2 separate regions of the Homo sapiens genome follow, and region 2 is linked to region 1. The links are contacts of gene promoters, found by promoter capture Hi-C in human tissues and cell types (Jung and others, 2019). All regions are on one chromosome and are shown on one strand. The core of a region is centred on a gene start or on the middle of the fragment in contact, and the rest is flanking DNA. Distances in the headings are between cores, read along the strand shown.

Evidence for each region. Contacts are between HindIII fragments. The study calls those that stand out against the background at their distance.
Region 2: a contact is called between a fragment that was not itself captured here and the fragment with the promoter of AGRP in region 1, in 2 of the 25 tissues and cell types used here (bladder and spleen).

What each region holds. Positions count from the first base shown.
Region 1 is chr16:67,480,789-67,487,655 of GRCh38, reverse strand. It overlaps AGRP (agouti related neuropeptide), which reads left to right and starts at 4,109. Exons shown (of 4, transcript NM_001138.2): 1 at 4,109-4,139; 2 at 4,255-4,387; 3 at 4,546-4,631; 4 at 4,838-5,085. The coding sequence starts at 4,258. The coding sequence ends at 5,020. It overlaps ATP6V0D1-DT (ATP6V0D1 divergent transcript), which reads right to left and starts at 6,262. Exons shown (of 4, transcript NR_184227.1): 1 at 6,137-6,262; 2 at 3,328-3,546. It overlaps ATP6V0D1 (ATPase H+ transporting V0 subunit d1), which reads left to right and starts at 6,499. Exons shown (of 8, transcript NM_004691.5): 1 at 6,499-6,699. The coding sequence starts at 6,570. RefSeq lists a silencer at 6,219-6,388 and enhancers at 6,499-6,548, 6,709-6,867. The HindIII fragment of the contact is 1,388 bases long and covers 3,610-4,997 here.
Region 2 is chr16:67,587,331-67,594,809 of GRCh38, reverse strand. All of the region lies in intron 2 of CTCF (CCCTC-binding factor), which reads right to left. Among named protein-coding and RNA genes, the nearest start is that of CTCF, 29 kb to the right of the region's middle. The HindIII fragment of the contact is 6,285 bases long and covers 1-5,734 here.

The DNA of each region.
Region 1 (6,867 bases), core at 2,860-5,359:
TTACAGGTGTGAGCCACTGTGCCTGGCCCAATTATATCACTATAATGTTATTATCCATTTTGCTGTTGATGGATATTTGGATTGTTTCCAGTTTTCTTTCTTTTTTAAAATTTTTTATTTTTTTAAGACAAGGTCTCATGTGCATAAGCTGGAATGCAGTAGTGTGATCATGGCTCACTACAGCTTTAACCTCCTGGGATCAAGCGATCCTCCCCACCTCAGCCTCTGGAGTCACTGGGACCACTGATGTGCACCACTGTGTCTGGCTATTTTTAAATTTTTTTGTAGAGATTGGGTCTCTGTATGTTACCCAGGCTGGTCTCAAACTCCTGGGCTCAAGACAGTCTCCCACCTCGGCTTCCCAAAGTGGTGGGATTACAGGCATGAGCCACGGCACCAACTTTCTCTATCTTTTTGTTTTATTCCAACCCTCAAAGGATTGGATGATTCTGGAAACACCCTCACAGGCACACCTAGAAATAATATTTAACCAGATATCTGGGCATTCCTGGCCCAGTCAAGTTGACACACAAAATTAACAATCACAGATCCTCTCTAGCTCAGGGCTCAATACACCAGCCCGAGAGAACCCCCATCCATCTTCTCCTCTCCCTGAATGACTGAGGAGACCGTGCCTCTCCAGGCAACCTCTGCCTTAGGAAATCCTACAGATGATTCACAGGAAACACATGGCTGTGCTCTCTGGGGCAGGGGCAATGGGCTGGGTAGGGGTTTCAAAATCAACCCTGATTGACAGAGCCACGGGTGCTTGCAGTTTTTCCCTGCACCCCCCACCCTCTCCCCTGGACAAGGTGGGAACAGGGCCCTTGAAGGGGAGTACACTGCAGGAGGAAAAAGAAGAGAAGGGAGAGGGTTTGAGCACCCCTCTCTGTCCTCATGTGGTCTCTGGAACGAGCATGCACACTCTCCCCTTTCTCCTCCCTGCACAGAGTCCCTGTGTTCCGGGCCCACACCCTCACTTAGGAGGCTCTGCCTCCCCCAGGGTTTCCCAAATCCTCCTCCCAGAACATGCCACATATTTCTGAAGGTCCTTTTGCCAACAAGCATTGTCCTGGGAATATCAGGCTGGTTCCTTACCGTAAAATTACCCACATAGTGAAACTTTTTTTTTTTTGAGATGGAGTCTCACTCTGTTACCAGGCTGGAGTGTTACCAGGCTGGAGTGCAGTGGCACGATCTCAGCTAACTGCAACCTCCGCCTCCTGGGTCCCAGTTCAAGTAAATCTCCTGCCTCAGCCTCCCAAGTATCTAGGATCATAGGTGCGTGCCACCATGCCCAGCTAATTTTTGTATTTTTAGTAGAGATGGGGCTTCACCATGTTGGCCAGGCTGGTCTTGAACTCCTGACCTCATGATCTGCCCACCTTGGCCTCCCAAAATGCTGGGATTACAGGCGTGAGCCACTGCATCCGGCTGTGAAACTTTTTTTTTTTTTTTTGAGAGAGTCTCGCTCAGTCACCCAGGCTGGAGTGCAGTGGCGCGATCTCGGCTCACCGCAAGCTCTGCCTCCTGGGTTCACACCATTCTCCTGCCTCAGCCTCCCAAGTAGCTGTGATTACAGGTGCCCGCTATGACGCCCGGCTAAATTTTTTTTTTTTTTGTATTTTTAGTAGAGATGGGGTTTTGCTGTGCTAGGCAGGATAGTCTCCATCTCCTGACCTTGTGATCTGCCCACCTCGGCCTCCCAAAGTGCTGGGATTACAGGCGTGAGCCACCGCACCTGGCCTTTTTTTTTTTTTTTTTTAATGGGGACTGGGTTTCGCCATGTTGCCCAGGCTGGCCTCGAATTCCTAGGCTCAAGTGATCTGCCTGCCTCAGCCTCCCAAAGTGCTGGGATTATAGGCGTGAGCCACCACCACCATGGCTCACTGCAGCCTCAATCTCCTGGGCCGAAGCTATCCTCCTCCCTGTCTCCTGAGTAGCTGGGACTACAGGTGTGCATCACCACATTCAGCTAATTAAATTTTTTTTTTTTGGTAGAGACAGAGTCTCACTATGTTGCCACTCCTGGGCTCAAGAAGGTGTGAATCACTACACCTGGCCGTTTTTTTTTTTTTGTTTAGTTTTGTTTTTGTTTTTTGAGACGGCAACTTGCTTTGTCGCCCAGGCTGGAGTGCAGTAGCGCGATCACAGCTCATTGCATTTTGGCGCTGGGTTTTCTTGATATCTCCCCCACTGGACCTGACCGGGGCATGGGCTGCCCTGTGAGTGCCTCAGCCCTCGTCCATCACTGCCCATGGGGCTGATACACCTGTGTGCACACACTCAGGTGAAGACAGCTGCTGCCCGTAGGTGAGGTAAGACACTGAGCACCTGTGTGGGAGGAGATCTTCCACTCCCACTCTGTCCACACCAGACCATGAAGAGCTCTCCATAGCATGGGTGCTGACCAGGCCCAGCCTGGGTGACAGAGTGAGACCCTGACTCAAAGAAAAAGACATAATGAGGTGTGATTTTAATTTCTTGGATGTCCCAGTATATATAAATGTTGGGAGTATGGATTGCTTCATTTCATTTTAAATAGCATTTTTTTTTTAAGATGGAGTCTCACTCTGTCACCCAGGTTGGAGTGCAGTGGTGCGATCTCTGCTCACTGCAGTCTCTGCCTCCCGTGTTACAAGTGATTCTCCTGCCTCAGCCTCCCGGGTAGGTGGGATTACAGGCATGTGCCACCATGCCTGAATAACTTTTGTATTTTTAGTAGAGATAGGGTTTCACCATATTGGCCAAGCTGGTTTGAACTCCTGACCTCCAGTGATCCGCCCACCTTGGCCTCCCAAAATGCTGGGATTACAGGCGTGAGCCACCGTGCCTGGCCACCCTTTATCTTCTTTTCTTTTTGAGACAGGATCTTGCTCTGTCGCTCAGCCTGGAGTGTGGTGATGCAGTCATAGCTCACTGCACTCTTGAATCCCTGTGCTCAAGCCATCCTCCCACCTCAGCCTCTACTACAGGCATGCACCACTACACCCAGCTATTTTTTTATTTTTTGTAGCAACGGGGTCTCACCATGATACCCAGGCTGGTCTTAAACCCCTGGCCTTGTGATCCTCCCACCTTGGCCTCTCAAAATGCTGGAATTACAGGTGTGAGCCACCATACCTGGCCCCCTTCATCTTTTTTCCACTGCCTTGTGCCAACCCAGTTTGTGCACTGGGGCCTTGCGATCCTCTCAAAGCTGATTCAGCCTGCATTCCTTTCCCAGATGGACACGTGTGTGATAAACAGCTCTGCAGTGGGGTGAGGGAAGGCAGGGGCAGCAGGGTCCTGTATGTCCTGCCATCTCCACAAAAGGGCAGTCCTTACCCCAGCCTTGTGCTGATGAGACCAGGCATAGACAGTCCTGACGACACAGGGCGGAAGGGAGCAGCCATTAGTGCTAATGAGGCAGGCGGCCTGAAAGCTTTGTACTCTGCAGTGGCTCGCCCACCCAGGGAACAGTTCGTTCTGTTTCCTTGGCTTCCAGGAACCCTAGGCAGAAAGGGGTTTGGGGACAGGAGCAGGAGTGGGCGGTCTTGGAGAAACCTGGAGGGAGAAAGGGAGGGGAGGACCAGAAATGTAGTCAGGAGGGCCTAGGATTGGTTAGGTGGGCTTTTCCTTCCCCTTTCCCTCCAAAGAAACCCAGGTTCTGGTTCTGCACCTACCCCTGCCCAACAGTGGCCATTGGCCCATCACCCGCTCCAATGTCCTTGACCCGAATTCTTGGAAGCACAGGAAACAACATGCCACATAGGGGTTGAGTAAGCATCTCTGGGGCCACAAATTAAATTAAGCTTTCAGGGCCGCCTGCCTTGTTATTGCTAATGGTTCTAGCCCTGCTCAGCTCCTAGGTCCCTGTCCTGTGGAAATTTGTGGACCCTGGGCACCCTCTCTTGCTCCCAAATTTTAATCGGCTCCTGGAAACCTCACCCCAAATTGGAGATAGGCACTCCTCTTGTAGAACAAAAGGCTCAGGTTCAGGGAGTGAGGGCCTGAACTGTGCCCCCACCCTCCAGGAAGGGTCCTTCACGGCCTGGCTGCAGGGATCAGTCACGTGTGGCCCTTCATTAGGCCCTGCCATATAAGCCAAGGGCACGGGGTGGCCGGGAACTCTCTAGGCAAGAATCCCGGAGGCAGAGGTGAGTCCTCAGGTTGGGCAGGGACTCCTCCTCTCTGTGGGGTCTCTATCTGGGCACCTAGAGGGGACTCCAAGGATAAGGAGGGACTAAGTGGTACATCTTCCTGCTGAGCCAGGCCATGCTGACCGCAGCGGTGCTGAGCTGTGCCCTGCTGCTGGCACTGCCTGCCACGCGAGGAGCCCAGATGGGCTTGGCCCCCATGGAGGGCATCAGAAGGCCTGACCAGGCCCTGCTCCCAGAGCTCCCAGGTCAGTGTGAGCAAGGGTGGGACTGGGCGGGGCCTGAATACCCTCTGGCCACAAATAGTCTCCCCTGGCATAAACCCTCTTTCTCCCTTCCCAAACCCTCCCCTGGGAGGTGGGTGCTTTGTGCATGGGGGTTCCTGCCCTCACATCCTCTGCCCCAGGCCTGGGCCTGCGGGCCCCACTGAAGAAGACAACTGCAGAACAGGCAGAAGAGGATCTGTTGCAGGAGGCTCAGGCCTTGGCAGAGGTAACTGCTCAGGGAAAAGGGTAAGGTGGTGGCCCTTGGGAGGGGGCATTGGGTATTAGCTCCTCTCCCCAGCTCCAAACTCCCTCACCAGCGACGACACTACCGACCACCCCTTCCCATGCTCCACTGCCATCCTGCACAGGTTGGGACAGGTAAGATCCCTGGATCTGTCTTTAGAGGCCTGTGCTGGTTCCCCACCCCTGCAGGTACTAGACCTGCAGGACCGCGAGCCCCGCTCCTCACGTCGCTGCGTAAGGCTGCATGAGTCCTGCCTGGGACAGCAGGTGCCTTGCTGTGACCCATGTGCCACGTGCTACTGCCGCTTCTTCAATGCCTTCTGCTACTGCCGCAAGCTGGGTACTGCCATGAATCCCTGCAGCCGCACCTAGCTGGCCAACGTCAGGGTCGGGGCTAGGGTAGGGGCAAGGAAACTCGAATAAAGGATGGGACCAACCCCAAGGCTGTGGTTATTTCAAACGTGGCCGTCAAAGGAGGGAGGGTTCATGGAGGGGGTGGGAGTGTCACCAAGCCAAGAAACCACACATACTCTTATCCCAGGGCCTGGGCTACCCTATCATAGGAGGCACATACACGGGCGCTTTTAGGGGTCCTGGTGCCCCTGGGAAAAATAGAGAAGAGCCGCACTCCAGCTTTCGAAAATCTTGTACAGCAAGTGCGGGGAACGCAGGACGCAGCGTGGCACAGGGGCTATCACTCCTGGCTAACAAATAAGCCTTAGGCTCCAGGGCTTGCTGCTACTTCCACGCAAAGCCTGCCCCTCATCCTGTTACCAGAGGGAAGGCCAGGAGTGTGCGTTGTTCAGGTCCTTAGCGTTTCGAACAAAGAATTGAACAAAACCCAGAAAGTAACAAACGAATGACACACAGGAAGGAAGCAGACAGCTGGGATTTGTTAAAGCGAGAAAGCACTACGCAGGGTGGGAGTGGGCCTGAGCAAGAGGCTGAAGGGGCTCAGTTACAAAGTTTTCCGGGTTTTAAGTACTCCTTTTGCGGTCCCTGTCCGTTACCCCTTATCTGGATGAAGGGTTTGGTCCATGGCTAATTAATCCATTTATGCCTGAGGTTGCAATCTTTTTGAATTTTTGCAATCAGACCTTGGCCATGACCTTGAGCAGTAGGATATAAATAACTCCCATATGCTTAGCGTTCCAATAATGGAACACAAGGCATAAATGGGGCTAAGGTGAATTGGCGCCCTATGCAGATGAAGGGATGGCCCGTGCTTGGCCCGCAGCCAATCCAAGGCACTCTCCCTTTCAACTGAGACGTGGTGGAAGGGGGAGGGTTGTGGGGACAGTGGCCTTTGATCCTTTGTTACTTGGACATGGGGAGATGGGGTTTTTCTTTTTGGTTTAGCTTTAGTAAGCTCGCCTTAGTTGGCCTCCGGTTCCCTGCCCCCAGACCTTGGTGTTTTCCCTTGATTCAGCTTCAGAATTCAGCACGTATTGGCCTCAAGTTCCCCGCCTCCAGACCCTATTCTCCTACCTCAATCGGACCTCAGTTTCCCTCTGGGGAGGAGGCTGGCCCAGCAGTCTGGAAACTTTCCAAGCTTGAGAAGGGCTCGCTCCCTTCTTTACCCCGCCCGCCCTGCAGCGTCAAGTGCAGCAAACCGGGGAAAGCTAGAGAAGGCCCAGTCAAATCCCTGCGGCCACAGGCGCCACCAAGCGGCCGGCCTCAAACTTCCTCTTTTTAGCGCGCAGGCGCCGCAGGGCCAGCCCACGCCTGCACCGCGCTTCCGCGCAGCCACCCGGAAGCCGGGCACCGCTCAGAGCCACGCCCCCTTATGGTCACGTGAGGCGCTTGCGCGTCACCTGACGCACTTGACAGCCCGCTGAGGACGCAGCGTCAGCTGACCTGGGGAGTCGCGATTCGTGCCGGCCGGTCCTGGTTCTCCGGTCCCGCCGCTCCCGCAGCAGCCATGTCGTTCTTCCCGGAGCTTTACTTTAACGTGGACAATGGCTACTTGGAGGGACTGGTGCGCGGCCTGAAGGCCGGGGTGCTCAGCCAGGCCGACTACCTCAACCTGGTGCAGTGCGAGACGCTAGAGGGTGAGCCGGGGCCGCGAAAGGCGGGGATAGAGGCTGTCCGGGGCCTGAGGGTTCAGAGGTGTAGGCCGGGAAGCCGGAAGGGGGGGTCTTGAAGGGCCTGAGAGGCCTCTCTGGGAATCCTGGGGCTGATAGCGGACGCGCAGGAGCGGGATCTACCTCTAGCTGTGG
Region 2 (7,479 bases), core at 1,343-3,842, 110 kb before region 1:
TGTTTCTGTAGTCTCTACAGCAATGGATACAAAACAGTGTTAGACAAACAGGAATTCTCACTGACTTTGTCAGATGAAACAGGTATAGATGGTTCCTGCACAGGACAAGAGCAGGAAGGGAACATGGAAAAACAAAACACTGTTTATATGCTAAGTGAAAGCCTAAGTATACGAATTTACCTTTATTGCTCTCTTTGCATCACTATTTTTTTAGTGATGCGAAGTTTTTTTACGCATCACTATTTTTTTAGTGATGCAAAGTTTAGAAACTTTGAAAGACAAAGTTTCATTATGTTGCCCAGGCTGTTCTCGAACCCCTGGGCTCAAGGGATCCTCCCACTTCATCCCCCACAAAATGCTGAGAATATAGGCATGAGCCACTGCAACTAGCCTGTGTCAATTCTTACACCTTTTTTTTTTTTTTTTGAGACAGGGTCCCACCCTGTCGCTCAGGCTGGAGTGCAGTGGCACAATCAAGGCTCACTACAGCCTTGACATCCTGGGTTCAAGTGATCCTCCTACCTCAGCCTCCCAAGTAGCTGGGACTACAAGCATGTGCCACCATACTTGGTTCATTTTATTTTACAGAGATGGGATCTCACTGTATTGCCTAGGCTGGTCTCCTAAGCTCAAGTGGCCTCCCAAAGTGCTGGGATTACAGGCATAAACCACCATGCTCAGCCTGTGTCACTTCTTAATAGAGAAAAATAAAAATTCCCAAAAACACAATTACAGGTTAGATTTTTTAAAATCCTGCCATGTAAAAATGGAAGCTAATTGTGAATACACTAATTTTTGAAGATATTAAGGTTTAGTAATTTATCACCTATGATTATGACTACATAGCAAATATGTCAGACAATTTCCAAAGGAAAACAACCAAAACAACCTTTTATACTCACCACTGCAGAGTTTAGTCAGTTAAGTAGACTGGTTATTATACTAGGAATAATCCATGTGTACTGAGAATAAGACAGTAGAAGAGAATGATTTCCAGCAGTCTATTTTATAACTAAACCCACAACTTTTTAATATACTGCTTACTATCCATTATAAGGGGCAACTGATTGCTAAAAACCCCAACTTATTTCCTGGGGAGATCAGAAGTCTATCTGCATTCTCTTGGTAAGAAATACATTAGCAGCTCTAAGACCCCATGAACTTTCACAAGCCACAGAAATTCTGAAAGTCAACATGAAGGGTACCTAACAAATGGCCTAACAGAGGTTGATACGAACCCTCAGACATCATAAGAAGGCAGAGAACGCACAGCCATAAAAAAGAATGAAATAATGTCCTTTACAGCAACACAGATGCAGCTGGAGGTCATTATCCTAAGCGAATTAAGGCAGGAACAGAAAACCAAGTATCTCATGTTCTCACTTACAAGTGGAAGCTACACACTGGGTACACATGGACATAAACATAACAATAGGCCTTAGGGATTAGGAGGGGGAGGGAGAAAACGGGGTAAGGGCTGCAAAACTAATCATTGGGTACTATGCTCATTACCTGGGTGATGAGCAACAATTGTACCCCCAAACCTCATAATCACACAATATACCCATGTACACAAAAAAACTTGGACATGTACCCCCGAATCTAAAATAAAAGTTGAAATTGTAAAAAATTTTAAGAGAACAGAAGATACCTTGCACCTTTCTCTTTATATGTATAAAATATATATTAAAAACCATATATTAAAATATAAAAAAGATATACAAATATATAAATATAAAATATATATTAAACATTTATACATATATATATAAATTTTTTTTTTCCAGATGGAGTTTCACTCTGTCACCCAGGCTGGAATGCAGTGGCGCGATCTCGGCTCACTGCAACCCCTGCCTCCAGGTTCAACCGATTCTCCTGCCTCAGCCTCCTAAGTAGCTGGGACTACAGGCACATGCCACTGTGCCCCGCTAATTTTTGTATTTTTAGTAGAGACGGGGTTTCACCATGTTGGCCAGGCTGGTCTCAAACTCCTGAGCTCAAGTGATCCACCCACCTCGGCCTCCCAAAGTGCTGAGATTACTGACGTTGAGCCAGTCACCAACGCCTGGCCTCTGTAAGTATCTTTTTTTGATGTTGTTGTTTTTGAGACGGAGTCTCACTCTGTCACCCAGGCTGCAGTGCAGTGGCACGATCTTGGCTCACTGCGACTTCCGCCTCCTGGGCTCAAATAATTCTAATGTCTCAGCCTCCCGAGTGGCTGGGACTACAGGCGCATGCCACCATGCCGGCTAATTTTTATATTTTTAGTAGAGACAGGGTTTCACCATACTGGTCAGGATGGTCTCAAACTTCTGAGCTCTGGTGATCCTCCCACCTCAGCCTCCTAAATTACTGGGATTACAGGCATGAGCCACTGTGCCTGGCCTTATTTATTTTTTTAGACAGATTCTTGCTCTGCCACCCAGGCTGGAGCGCAGTGGCACAATCCCGGCCACTGCAACCTCTGCCTCCAGGGTTCAAGCAATTCTCCTGCCTCAGCCTCCTGAGCAGCTGGGATCACAGGCGTACACCACTATGCCCAGCAAATTTTTGTATTTTTAGTAGAGACAGGGTTTCACTATGTTGGCCAGGCTGGTCTCAAACTCCTGACCTCAGGTGATGTGCCCGCCTCATCCTCCCAAAGTGCTGGGTTTACAGGTGTGAGCCACTGCGTCCAGTCGATAGATCTTTACATTAGAAAAATGTTGACTGAAAAGCTTAGTCTGGTATTCTCACTATACAGAATGTTAAATGACATTAGGACAAGGAGGGGAAAAAAAGCAATTATAAGTCATCAGGTCGGGCACAGTGGCTCACACATATAATCCCAGTACTTGGGGAGGCAGAGCCAAGAGAATCGTTTGAGCCCAGGAGTTCAAGACCAGCCTGAGCAACATAGTGAGACCTTGTCTCCATTAAAAATTAAAAAAAAAATTAGCTAGGTATGATGGCATCCATCTGTAGTCCCAGCTACTCGGGACTGAGGCGGGAGGATCGCCTGAGCCCAGGCTGCAGTAAGCTATCATCACACCACTGCATTCCAGTCTGAGTGACAGCGCAAGACTCTGTGCCCTTACTGCCCCCCCCCAAAAAAAGTAATCAGTTTTTCCTGAGGATGAAAGGAAAAGCTAAGTAACTTTTACTAGATGCAGGACACTAGCCAAAACGAATAAAAGTTATTAACTCTTTTAGAGTAAAAGCTAGGTTTAAAAGTTAAACAAAATAACCATTTTACTCTGCTATTCCTGAAAACATATACGCCATCATCTTATCTGAGAGCTTAAAATACATCAAAGCAAAGTATCAGTGAACTAGTACCAGGAAAGTTGTAGACTACAATAAAGAATGAGGAGGAGTTGAATTGGGAGAATAACTTGGGCTGAGAAGCAGAAAAATAATAGTGACCATTTCTTTCACAGTGACTGGGAACGGAAGCAGCCTTTATCTGAAAAAGCACTCATCTATTTAATCACAACTGTACCTCTCACTTCTCTGACATTAATTTTCATTTATTTTTTGAGACAGAGTCTCGCTCTGTCACCCAGGCTGGAGTGCAGTGGTGAGATCTTGGCTCACTGCAATCTCTGCCTCCTGTGTTCAAGCAATTCTCAGCCTCAGCCTCCTGAGTAGCTGGGATTACAGGCACGCATCACCACGACTAGCTAATTTTTGTATTTTTCGTAGAGATGGGGTTTCATCATGTTGGCTAGGCTAGTCTCAAACTCCTGACCTCAAGTGATCTGCCCGCCTCGGCCTCCCAAAGTGCTGGGATTACGGTGGCTCACGCCTGTAATCACAGCATTTGTGTGAGCCACCCAGTCCAGCATTTTTTTTTTTTTTTTTTTTTTTGAGACAGAGTCTCACTCTGTCATCCAGGCTGGAGTGCAATGGTGCCATCTCAGCTTACTGCAACCTCCACCTCCCGGGTTCAAGCGATTCTCCCGCCTCAGCCTCCCAAGTAGCTGGGATTGATTACAGGCACCAAACATCATGTCCGGCTAATATTTGTATTTTTAGTAGAGACAGGGTTTCGCCATGTTGGCCACGCTGGGCTTGAGCTTCTGACCTCAGCTGATCCACCCTCCTCAGCCTCCCAAAGTGCTAGGATTACAGGTGTGAGCCATCACACCTGGCCGATCACCGTGCTCGGCCAATTTTTAAAAGAACAGTTAGGGCCGGGCACGGTGGCTCACGCCTGTAATCCCAGCACTTTGGGAGGCCGAGGTGGGCAGATCACAAGGTCAGGAGATCGAGACCATCCTGGCTAACACAGTGAAACCCTGTCTCTACTAAAAAAATAAAAATAAAAAATTATAAAATAACAGGGCTTTTTGTATGTGTGTGTGTAGAAATAATTAAAAGGGAAATGAAAATGTTTCTTCTAAGTTAAAAAAAAAGTTAAGAGCATTCTAGTATTTTGTTAACAATCTCCCCTCCCATTTGTTAATATTAAAGGGTATGGTCAAAACAAAACAATTATTCTAACAGCTACTTGAAGAAAGCCCACTGAAGCTTTGAATCTAGGAAATACGTACTAATAAAATATTTGTAATGGCAACAGTGAAACTAGTATGGGAGGAGGGGAAGGAGTTCTTTTGCTACAAAGAATAATAAAGGCTAGACAATAATTCTTTCGCCAAAAGGTGGCTGACGCTGCTGTAGAAAGGAACTCTCTTCTTTAAAAAAAAAAAAAAAAGTTCTAACTGTTCTTTTTCTTTTTTTGAGACGGAGTTTCGCTCTTGTTGACCAGTCTGGAGTGCAATGGCGCCATCTTGGCTCACTGCAACGGCCGCCTCCTGCGTTCAAGTGATTCTCCTGTCTCAGCCTCCTGAGTAGCTGGGACTACAAATGCCCACCATCATGCCAGGCTAATTTTTGTATTTTTAGTAGAGATAGGGTTTCACCATGTTGGCCAAGCTGGTCTCAAACTCCTGACCTTAGGTGATCCAGCCATCTTGGTCTCCCCAAATGCCGGTATTACAGGTGTGAGCCACCGCGTCCAGGCTCTTTTTCAAGTTAATGGAAGAAATCGGGTATTAGGTGTTGAAGCGTCATTTGGGGCTGGAGGCAGGGAAGGGAGAGAGAGTACAAGCATATGTACTAGGGGTAGTCTTCAATCAGTACTGTGCTAAAGCTGACTCCCAGATAAGCTTTGTCTTCTGCACGAGGTTCAGTTCTTAGGGAGCTCCTTGTCTGGCAGGCAGAAAGAAAAACAAATAGCAGCTATATAGTGTGATGAGTACTGTAACAACGGTTAACATACTTCCTACCACCCTGGCATAAAGGATGACTTCAGTGGGTGAAGGGCTTTAAGGAAAGGAATTGCTACAGCTGGATATCAAATGATGAGGTGGACCTTGCCTGACAAACTACAGAACAGGTGAACGGTATATAACAAAAATATGTATGGAATTAGACCAATTTTGTGCAGAAGAAATTTAATGTAACTGAGTGGAACTGTATTAAGCCATCTCAAATTAATATTATTATAATTATTTATCTTTTTTAAGAGGTGCGGTCTTGCTCTGTCTCCCAGACTGGAGTGAGCGCAGTAGTGTAATCGTAGCTTGCCACAGCCTTGAACTCCTGGGATCAAGTGCCTCTCTTGCCTCAGCCTCCTGGGTAGTTGGGACACTACAGGCATGCACCACTGCACCCTACTATTTTATTATTATTATTTTGTAGAGGTGGGGTCTTGCTTTGTTGCCTCGGCTGGTCTTGAGCTTCTGGCTTCAAACAATCTTCCTGCCTCAGCCTCCCAACATGTTGGGATTATGGGCATGAGCCATTACACCCAGGCCTCAAATTTATTATTTTGAGGCTGGGCACGGTGGCTCACGCCTGTAATCCCAGCATGTTGGGAGGCCAAGGCGGGTGGATCACTTGAGGTTAGAAGTTCGAGACCAGCCTGGCCAACATAGCGAAACCCTGTCTCTACTAAAAAAAAATACAAAAATTAGCCGGGTGTGGTGGCGTGCACCTGTAATCCCAGCTACTTGGGAGGCTGATGCATGAGAATCGCTTGAACCCAGGAGGTGGAGGTTGCAGTGAGCTGAGTTCACGCCACTGCACTCTAGTCTGGGGTACAGAGTGAGAATCTGTATCAAAAAAATATATATTATTTTGATGTGGTTTCAGAGCCCTCTGTTAAGGGTAGCCTGTTTATTTCACTTATTGAACATTTACAAAGATAATGCTCATCTGTGAGTCAACATTGGTGCCATAGTACCAACAGGAGGCTGCCTCCCAAGTACATGCTGTCCTCTCTCTGCTCTCCATAGCCCAAATGACACTTTTGCTGGTGTAGAGTAACCTAAGCTTCACTTTCTGTTCCCCTAATAAGAGACTATGTTAGAGACCACCAGATCCCTCCTTGCCACACTGCAGACCCATATCCCTGGAAGCAGCTCAGAGTTAGACCGTCTTTGGAGCAGCCCTACAGTCTTTTCATCACTTGGAATAGGAGAAAGACTGAGAATCTATAGCAAGTCTATCACCTTGAATAAATGTATTACAAAATAGGAATAAACTACACACACATAATGCAGGATTTACACAACACCTAACAGGTACTTTTATGAATTTTGGACAGATGCTGCCTGAGCAATGATTCCCAAACCTATTCTGGTGAGCTTTAAAAAATATAGATCCTGGCTGGGCGCAGTGGCTCATCCCTGTAATCCCAGCACTTTGGGAGACCGAGGCAGGTGAATCACCTGAGGTCAGGAGTTCGAGACCAGCCTGTCCAACATGGTGAAACCCCGTCTCTACTGAAAATGCAAAAATTAGCCAGGCGTGGTGGTGGGCGCCTGAAATCCCAGCTACTCAGGAGGCTCAGTCAGGAGAACTGCTTGGACCTGGGAGGCAGAGGCTGAAGTGAGCCAAGATTACGCCACTGCATCCCAGCCTGGGTGACTCTGTCTCAAAACAAAACAAAACAAACAACAACAAAAAAACTACAAAGCCTATCTCAAAACTAATATAATTCTCACATAAGCAATAACAGAATGTATGACTCAATGAGTCTTTTGTCTTTTTCCCCCTTTTTGTGGAGAATGGGGTCTTGCTATGTCACCCAGGCAGGTCCTGAACTCCTGGGCTCAAGCTATCCTCCTGCCTCTGCTTCCCTAAGTGCTGGTATCACAGGTGTGAGCCACTGTGCCAAGCAGAGTAAGCCTTGAAGTTTCACTTCTATTTTGGGTACAACCAATATTTAACAATCTCTAGGTAGTAAGGACAATCTGTAGGCATGAAAGAAGGGAAAAAGAAAAAAAAAAAACCCTGCAGAAATGGGCACACATGATAGGGTGAACTGTCATGGTTTTTATTTTTATAAATAAAAATGTCTCTGTAACCCAGGACTCACCTCATGAAGGCTACTTAGTAAAACCAAGACAACTTTTATTTGGTAAAGGGGTTGTCCTGTAAAGTTAACATTAAATCAGAAGCTAACAGTTTAAATAACAACAATGGATACTT